2 separate regions of the Homo sapiens genome follow, and region 1 is linked to region 2. Evidence: promoter capture Hi-C in 16 types of primary human blood cells and fetal thymus (Javierre and others, 2016). All regions are on one chromosome and are shown on one strand. The core of a region is centred on a gene start or on the middle of the fragment in contact, and the rest is flanking DNA. Distances in the headings are between cores, read along the strand shown.

The links. Contacts are between HindIII fragments. The CHiCAGO score rates a contact against its expected background, and 5 or more counts as called.
Region 1: a fragment that was not itself captured here is called in contact with the fragment with the promoter of MCPH1 in region 2 in 2 of 17 cell types (naive CD8 T cells and fetal thymus); the score reaches 12.4 in naive CD8 T cells.

What each region holds. Positions count from the first base shown.
Region 1 is chr8:9,005,064-9,009,384 of GRCh38, forward strand. ERI1 (exoribonuclease 1) reads left to right here. Exons shown (of 7, transcript NM_153332.4): 2 at 2,907-3,085. Among named protein-coding and RNA genes, the nearest start is that of ERI1, 4.3 kb to the left of the region's middle. The HindIII fragment of the contact is 1,115 bases long and covers 819-1,933 here.
Region 2 is chr8:6,403,590-6,407,876 of GRCh38, forward strand. MCPH1 (microcephalin 1) reads left to right here and starts at 3,038. Exons shown (of 14, transcript NM_024596.5): 1 at 3,038-3,100. The coding sequence starts at 3,079. It overlaps MCPH1-DT (MCPH1 divergent transcript), which reads right to left and starts at 2,959. Exons shown (of 2, transcript NR_040040.1): 1 at 2,117-2,959; 2 at 1-1,531. RefSeq lists silencers at 2,780-2,859, 3,120-3,299. The HindIII fragment of the contact is 9,682 bases long and covers 96-4,287 here.

The DNA of each region.
Region 1 (4,321 bases), core at 126-2,625, 2.6 Mb after region 2:
TAGTTGTCTTTGTAAACTAGTAGAAGCTATTGCATATTTATATTTTTAATAAGTAGGTTCAGATTTCATCAGAACTCTCCTTTTGGAAGAACGTCAATCAAGAAAAATTCTAAGTTTTTTTTCAGTGTGCAGATGCAGAGGTTTTCCTTTTCTTTTTTTAAAAGGTAGTACCTAGATTTTTGGCAGCAGAATAATAGCATTTCCAGAACATGTTTTCAAAATGTTCTCTATACAGAAAAAGTTTTATTTGACAAGCAGTTACTTTGTAGCTTACTGTTAAAATGTGTTTTCTTTTTTCTTGCAACAACAGATTGTGTTCCTTTAAAAAAATGCTAAAAATCAAGCTCCGGTACCCTTCCCAATAAGAAGAGGACAGCAATTATAGAATACCTGTCTTTTTGTAAAAGAAAATTTGTAACTCATCTTTAAGTTCAACAACAGTTTTTTTATGTTTTTTTTTTTTTTTTTTGAGAGGGAGTCTCTCTCTGTTGCCCAGGCTGGAGTGCAGCGGCTCAGTCTCGGCTCGCTGCAAGCTCCGCCTCACGGGTTCACGCCATTCTCCTGCCTCAGCCTCCTGAGTAGCTGGGACTACAGGCGCCCGCCCGGCTAATTTTTTGTATTTTTAGTAGAGACGGGGTTTCACCGTGGTCTCTATCTCCTGACCTCGTTATCCGCCCGCCTCGGCCTCCCAAAGTGCTGGGATTACAGGCGTGAGCCAACGCGCCCGGCCTCAACGACAGTTTTAAAGTAGTTTGCCACAAGATAGTAAACCTCTGTTTGGTATAGAAGATTTTCATGGCCACATCCCATAATGTAAAAGCTTCTCTTATTTGAGATAATATAAACCATACATCCACTTAATTGAATACGTGAATATTGCAAAATGTTACAGTTCTGTGATGGTGAATGTTTCTCTCCATATTGTGGAATCTATCACTTTTCTCATTATATGGTCCGTATTATATGTGACATGTGATAGGTGGATGTAGTTACTGGTACGGATGCTGATGCAAATGTAAGTATGTATTTCGTAAACTAATTTTGTCTTTCTGCAGATTAACAATACAAGTAGGGTTTTTAGTATTTTCTTTCTGCTCCTTGGCAGATTGATTTGAGCATCCTTCTTTGTGAACCATTAGTGTAGATTTGAAATTTGGGAGGAGACACTGCTTTCTGAGGATTGGACCTCGGCTGTCTCTAGAACTTCACTGAAGGAAGAGAACTAGAGCTGGACCTAGGAAAGGAAGCAAATTTTTCTTTATGGAAGTCATAATTTATAGCATCTATAGAAGAGGCCTAAGTGTTACTTGTGAATAATTTTTCTAGCTACAGTTTAGGATGAGAATTAACCAGTGAATCAGAAAGAGGATTTATCCAAAGAGAAAATCTGCTTAAATTAACTGAGACATCTGTTTTGGTAGACAAACTGTTACTTAATGTTGACCTAAATTTTAACCTGAAATTTACTAAATGATGACTAAAGATGAAGTTTCAAATTCAATGTAAATTTAAAGTCAAAAGATAATTTTTTGTAAAATTCTGGTCAAGCAGAGCAATATCTATTGTAAATCTAATATATTGTTGAAAGTGAATCATTGGTCAACTAGCAATACTTTTTTTTTCCTTAACATTGTTAACAAGGAACCTCAGTGTGGCTGTTCTTTAATTTATGGACAGTTCACACATTGGAACTGCTGACCTCTTCCTCAAAGGAAATGGGTGAGTCACTCTTGAGTACTCTGGCACCTTACCTAGCATTACATTTCCAGTAAATGTGTGTTGCATTAAATTGAGAGCTTAGAGTAAGAAATGGTTCCTGAACCATCAGGATCAGTTCTGAGTTAGGGACTGTGGCCTCTCTGTGATTATCCTTCCTTGATCTATAATTACAGTTTACGTGAGGACAATGTGGTACATTATAACTAAGGTAACAAGCTTTAATAGGGATAATTAGTACTAAATATTTTTCAAAATTATGGAACATAGCTAATATTTGTGATATTGCATGTGGAAAATAACTTACAAATGAATCTTTGGAACTTAACATATTAGTAATTTGAGACTGCCTGTGGAGAAAATAGAATTGAGTCATGTTTTTTCTTAACAGATTTTTATTTATGAAAAAATTCATAATTCTATAGTTCTTCTGGTTAGTGGACCTAAGTACAACTTTTGGAAAATGTAAGTTTTGAAATTAAATACATTTCCTTCTTTGAGTACTAGGAAGCTGTAAATTAGATTTGCGGTCCATTTTGTTTTTATGTTGGGCAATTTTTGTTAACTTTGTGAAATGAAGTCAGGTTAAAAAATTATCAGAAGTTATTACACATGTATAATGTAAAAGTTCATTTAAAAATGGGTTCATTTGTAAATATTAGCATATTGTTTGTGAAGGGCTTGTTGTATAGCCTGTGATATTAATAGTTACCATTTATTAATAGCTACTGTGGGTGTAGGGGTCTGATACACATAATCTCATTTAATCTTTGTAATAATTCTGCCCAAACACTATTTACCATTACCAAATTACCATTTTATAGATAAGGAAATTGAGGATCAGAGGCTAATACGTAGCTATCCAAAGTCATGCTGCTATTTCTAGTAAATAGTCAGCTGGGGTTCTCTATTGAGGTGGTGTTGACTCCCACCACCAGTCTTCTTTTTACTTAGCTTTGTTTCCTTTGAGGAACCTCATGACTCATAATAGAGTGGGGTAAATTGTATTGGAGACGCATCTTCCTTCTTATCCTTTCCTCCGTTTAGGAGCTGCAGTGAACACTTTTCATTGAACATGTAGCATGAAGAGGCTTCAGAAGTTTGAAAGTTTGAATCTTTAAATCTGTGATGTTTGTACTAATTATAAACTACATCCTTTTTTTTTTTTTTTTTTTTTTTTTTTTTGGTAGGAAACTCAACAGTGTAAATTTGATGGCCAGGAGACAAAAGGATCCAAGTTCATTACCTCCAGTGCGAGTGACTTCAGTGACCCGGTTTACAAAGAGATTGCCATTACGAATGGCTGTATTAATAGAATGAGTAAGGAAGAACTCAGAGCTAAGCTTTCAGAATTCAAGCTTGAAACTAGGTAATTAAAAATAACTTATAAAATTATAAAAGTAGTACATGCTCATTTTAGAAAATCTTGAAAACATTGAAATATTAAAAATCATCTGTAATCCTACCGTAATGACATGATCCTATTAACAGTTCACAAAAACTAATTAACATTTTTTATGTGCAACTCTGATTATTTTTGTCTGTCTTCTAGATGATAGGACTGCTGAATCAAAGTCAAATATTTTAATGACCTACCGGCAATGTATAGGAGTCTCTGTCTTATTATGACAAGAGTGTTTTAAATTTTTTTAGTTGCTCATTTAAATGATGGATAGTTATATTAGTGAGATAGAGTATTTTTTATTTTCTTTTTGCCATTTGTATCTTTTATAAAAAGAGTTTGTTTGAAATCAGGTACAATAAATTAAAAACATTCACTTAACAGGAATATTTTTTGTTTTAATTTCTAAAAAATAATCTACAATGATCGTTTGCATTATGTTTCACTGTATATTGAGTGAGAAAACAATGCAACTTAGTCAACTGTATGTGTATTTTAATGAGATATACACATACCTAAGTTTTTAGTAATTTTTTGCGAAACAAATCACTTTACGTTCATTGGGCCATGGGGCAGAAATGGCTTTTGGAGTCCAGAAAAATACATCGATTTTTGATAAACGGTAGAACTGCCAGGCATCAAGAAAAAAAATTGCCTGTATGAAATAGGTAAAAACTCTTCCTTTTTCAAGACATCTCTGAATCATAATTCTCTTAATAGTAGTATTCTTCCTCTTTAGAGTTTCACCACTCTTCAAAAGAGCACAAATTTATTAATTTCTAGATTGTCTACATCATAATGTATGAAGAAATTTTTGACTCCTATTTCCCCGATTCTTTCTGTTATGAAGGTACAACTTGTAGCCTACAGAAGATTTTCCGAGCAAAATTTTTGTCCTTCCCAGGTGTGAAGATCAGTTGCTTACTCCTGGCTTGCGTGGGAGCTAGCGATCTAGATGTATGTTTATACGTTTATTCAACAAGCCTGTATTGAATTCTAAGTACTGCACTAGGCATTGAAGTTATAAAGGTAAATACAGATATGTTCCCCACTTTGGCAATCTCAGTCTTTTGGGAAAACATACAAAGAAATCATCACAATACAGAGTGGCCAATGCTATATTGGAGGTCTGGCCAGGTACAGCATGAGAATACAGAGGAGAATATTTCTCAGGAATTCAGAAAGATGACATTTGAATTGTGC
Region 2 (4,287 bases), core at 1,788-4,287:
TGAGTTACTCTAAACCTTGTCTTTTCTCCTGTTAACCTGTTGTTATCAGTTAATTTGCAGGTCTTCAAACACAGGACCGACATTGAATGAGGAAAAGCTTTCCTTCCAACATAGACAATACGACTACCTGTAGAACATCATTTTGAATGTACAAAAAATTATTAAGCAGATTTAGCAAGTTTTCAGGACATGAGATCAATTGCAGATATCAACTATATTTCCATATATTAGCAACAATCAGAAACAAATGAAAAAATCACCATTTACGATATTATCAAAAAACACAAGACCTTGCACAGTGGCTCATGCCTGTAATCCCTACACTTTGGGAAGCTGAGGTGGGAGGATTGCTTGAGCCCAGGAGTTCAAGACCAGCCTGGGCAACATAGTGGGACTCCGCCTCTACAAAGAATTTAAAAAATGAATTGGGCATGGTCATGTGTACTTGTAGTCCCAGCTACTCAGGAGGTTGAGGTGGGAGGATAGCTTGATCCCAGGAGGGTCGAGGCTTCAAGATGAGCCATGATCACACCATTGCACTTCAGCCTGGGAGACAGAGTGAGATCCTGTCTCAAAAAAAAAAAAAAAAAAAAAAGAAGAAAAAAAGAAAAACAAAATAAAAAAACAAATACTTAGGTTAAAATCTAACAACAGTTATATTTTTTTTTTTTGAGATGGAGTCTCGCTCTGTTGCCCCAGGTGGAGTGCAGTGGCAAGATCTCTGCTCACTGCAAGCTCTGTCTCCCGGGTTCATGCCATTCTCCTGCCTCAGCCTTCCAAGTAGCTGGGGCTACAGGCGCATGCCACCACGCCCGGCTAATTTTTTGTATTTTTAGTAGAGATGGGGTTTCACTGTGTTAGCCAGGATGGTCTCAATCTCCTGACCTTGTGATCGGCCCGCCTTGGCCTCCCAAAGTGGCAGGCGTGAGCCACTGCGTCTGGCCAGAGAAATTTTAAAAGACCTAAATGTTAATGGGTCAGAAGATTCAATATGGTTAAAATGTCAATTCTCCCCAAATTCATCTGTAGAGTCAACACAATCTCAATCAAAATCCCAGCAGTATTTTTTTGTGCAAAATGAGAAGTCGACTCTAAGATTTAAAAGGAAATCTGAAGAATCTAGAAGATACAAAATAACCTTGAAAAATAAAGTTGTAGGACATAAACTATCTGATTTCATCACTTATTTATATAGCTACAATAATCAAAACAGCATGGTGCTGGCAGCAAAAAGACAAATAGCTCAATGGAACACAATAGGAAGCCTAAAATGAAACACATACATATGCAACACAGATTTTGATGTAAGCACAAAGGAAATGCAGTAGAGACAAAAATAACTTTTTAATAAATGATGCTGGAACATTTGGATATGTATACATGCAAAAAAATGAACTTTGGTCCCTATCCCATACCGTATACAAAAATTAATTAAAAGCAGATCTTATCCTTTGAGTCCAGTAGGTTGAGGCTGCAGTGAGCTGTGATTACACCACTGCATTCCAGCCTGGGCAACGGAGTGAGAAACTGCCTGGAGAAAAAAAAAAAAAAAAGTAGAACCTAGACCTGATATACAACCTAAAGCAGTAATATTTCTAGAAGAAATCCTAGGAGAAAATATTTGTGATCGTGGAGATGAAGAATCTATCAAATACTAAACTTTTTTTACCACCTTGACCAAAAGTAATTGGTTTATATACTTCATCATATCATTTAATTCAAAATCTACAGAGATCAATGTCACTTTCTCAGTAAAAGTACGTGAGTCTTCAATGATGCCCTGAACTCACACTCCCAAGTAAACCATAACACCATATTTCCAGAGTAGAGTTTATTAGAACAATAACTGGTGATAATGATAAATATTGATCAAAGACTGAGCCTAGGAAGTGGGTTTTTTGAGGCTGCATATACTCAAGGCAATTCTTCAGAACCACAGAGGGCTCATTGGATCCTATTAAAAGCTGAGAGTGAATGAATAAACAGATAAAACAGAGACCTGAGTAGACGGTAGTCGATATTCTTTTACATGTATTCTACCTCTAGATTCCATAGAAAGAACTAAAAGTACATGAATTTCACTACCAACATCTCCATCAGTTACCAGCTGTATCACCTTGGATCAGTCAGGTAACCTCCCGCGAATCTGGTTGCTTCCGGGGCAGGGGATCCGCGGGCTGCAGGTTTGAGCCTGGTTGCCGGCAGGGTGGAGCAGCTGGAGGGCCAAGCCTTTGAGCTCCAGGGGGGGTGGCCGGGACAGTGGGTAGTGCCAGCCGATCGGCGTCCTGGGGATTGCCTGAATGTGAGGTCTGGGTTCACCCCGCGGTGACCTGAGTCCTGGGATGCCCCTACAGGGATTTGCTGCCTCAGGGATCCGAAGTCTCTTTCATTCCCTTACTGGGGATTTGAGGTCTGGAGGTACTCCTGCGGGGGTCTGAGATCTCGGGGTCACCCTGTGGGGGTCTGAAGCCTCGGGGTCCCCGCGTGGGGTCTGAGGTATCAGAGTCCCCTCCGTTGGGTCTGAGGTCTCGGGGTCCCCCATCCCCGGGATCGGAGGTCCGGCTCCCCGGAGCAGGCAGGGCGGTGCGTCTGGCCCTGAACAGTAACGTGGCGCGCCAGCCCCAGGTGGTGTCGGGCTAGGGGGGCATAACGGTGCCGAAAGTCCGCACAAAGCCGTCCGCTGGGGTCCCGCCGCGTCCGCGAGGGAATGACTGTGCCCCCTCCCCTTCCTGATCCTCAGCTCAGGTGAGCCCAGATGAGGCGCCGGGTAGCTTCTAAGTCACTAATGGAAATAGAAGGCTAATTCAGGGGTTAGGGGCCGTCGTCCTCCTTACTCCCAGGAGAAGAGAAAAACCCACGGCCCAGCAGCCAGAGGCGCGGCGAGGCGGAATCGGGCCCCCTCCCCGGGGGCTCAGCTCCCTCCAGCCTCCCGCCTCACCTACAGAGAAATCCCGGAAACGCGGATTCAGCGGAGCGCGGTGACGGCGGCGCGCTCACCCCGCGCATGCCCAGTGCCCGCGCGCGCCGCCAGGCTCGCAAGCACCGCGTAGGCCAGCTGGCCGGATCCCGCCGTCTGTCATGGCGGCCCCCATCCTGAAAGGTGAGGTACTTCCTGCTGCCTGCTCCAGCAGCGGGAGTTTGAGGACCGGCACCCCTCGTCGCGGGCGCACTCGGGGGATCCCGTGGGAGGAGCCCCGCTCGCCCCTCCCTCGCTGCCTGTCTCCCCCAGACCCCCTGCCGCCTCCTTCCTCCCCCGCTGCCTGTCCCACCAAAACCCCCTGCTCCTGCTCTCTCCCCCGCTGCCTGTCCCCCCAAAACCCCCGGCTGCCTGCTTCGTCTCCCGTGCTCCCTGTCCCCCCAAACCCCCGACTGCCTGCTTCCTCCCCCGTACTGCTTGTGCCCCAACCCCCGTGCTGCTAGTTCCCCTCAATCCCCCGCTGCCTGCTCCCTCCCCCATGCTGCCTGTCCCCCAAATCCCGCCTTTCCCCCTACCTGCTTTCACCCCTGCTGCCTTAGTCCCTGGATCTGGGGCTCACTGGCAGGCAGAGTCCTGCCCTCCGGAAGTTGGTGTGGGGCCCTCCTGGGTCTGGTCCTGTTCGACCCCCTCTGAGGCCCACCTGGAGGAGCGGCAGTTGAGTTTCTATGCTAATTGTTCCAATAATAGGAGCCGCCTTTTACTGCGGAGTCTTTGTGTGCCAGGCGCTGTGCTTAGGCTAGTATGGTATTGTCTGATTTTTTTAACCGCTCTATCAACTCTCTTATATCATTTTACAGGCAGAAACTAAGGCATCGGACGTTTAGGTGACTCTCCCTGTGTGTGGCTAGTCAGTGCTGACAGGGCCTTAGACCGGAGCTGCTGTCCTAACCAGTATATGATACCGCACGCAGTCCCACCCTCTGTGCACCTGGAAGAGCCCAGGAGAGGGGAATAGCGGACACGTGTCTTGTAGAGTTTGACCGTGAGAAAAAAGGGGCCTGTATTGTGGGGCCTGGAGTCATAAAACCTCATAGCCAAAAGTAAAGACTAGAGGCTTTATACAAAGTCTGTAATCAGATGTGGCTATTTTTCTAATGTTAGTATTTTGTTAAATTAACCTGGTTTTCTTTTAGCGTTACCCCCAATCATTGACCAACGGCACACCTGGAAAATGCTTTTAAACATCAGGTTTTGAGAAGAGGATATCCACTAGAACAGGGGTCCACTCACTATGCCCCCCAGGCCATATCTAGCCTGCTGCCTGTTTTTGTAAGGGTCTACGAGCTAAGAATGTCTTTTACATTTTTAAG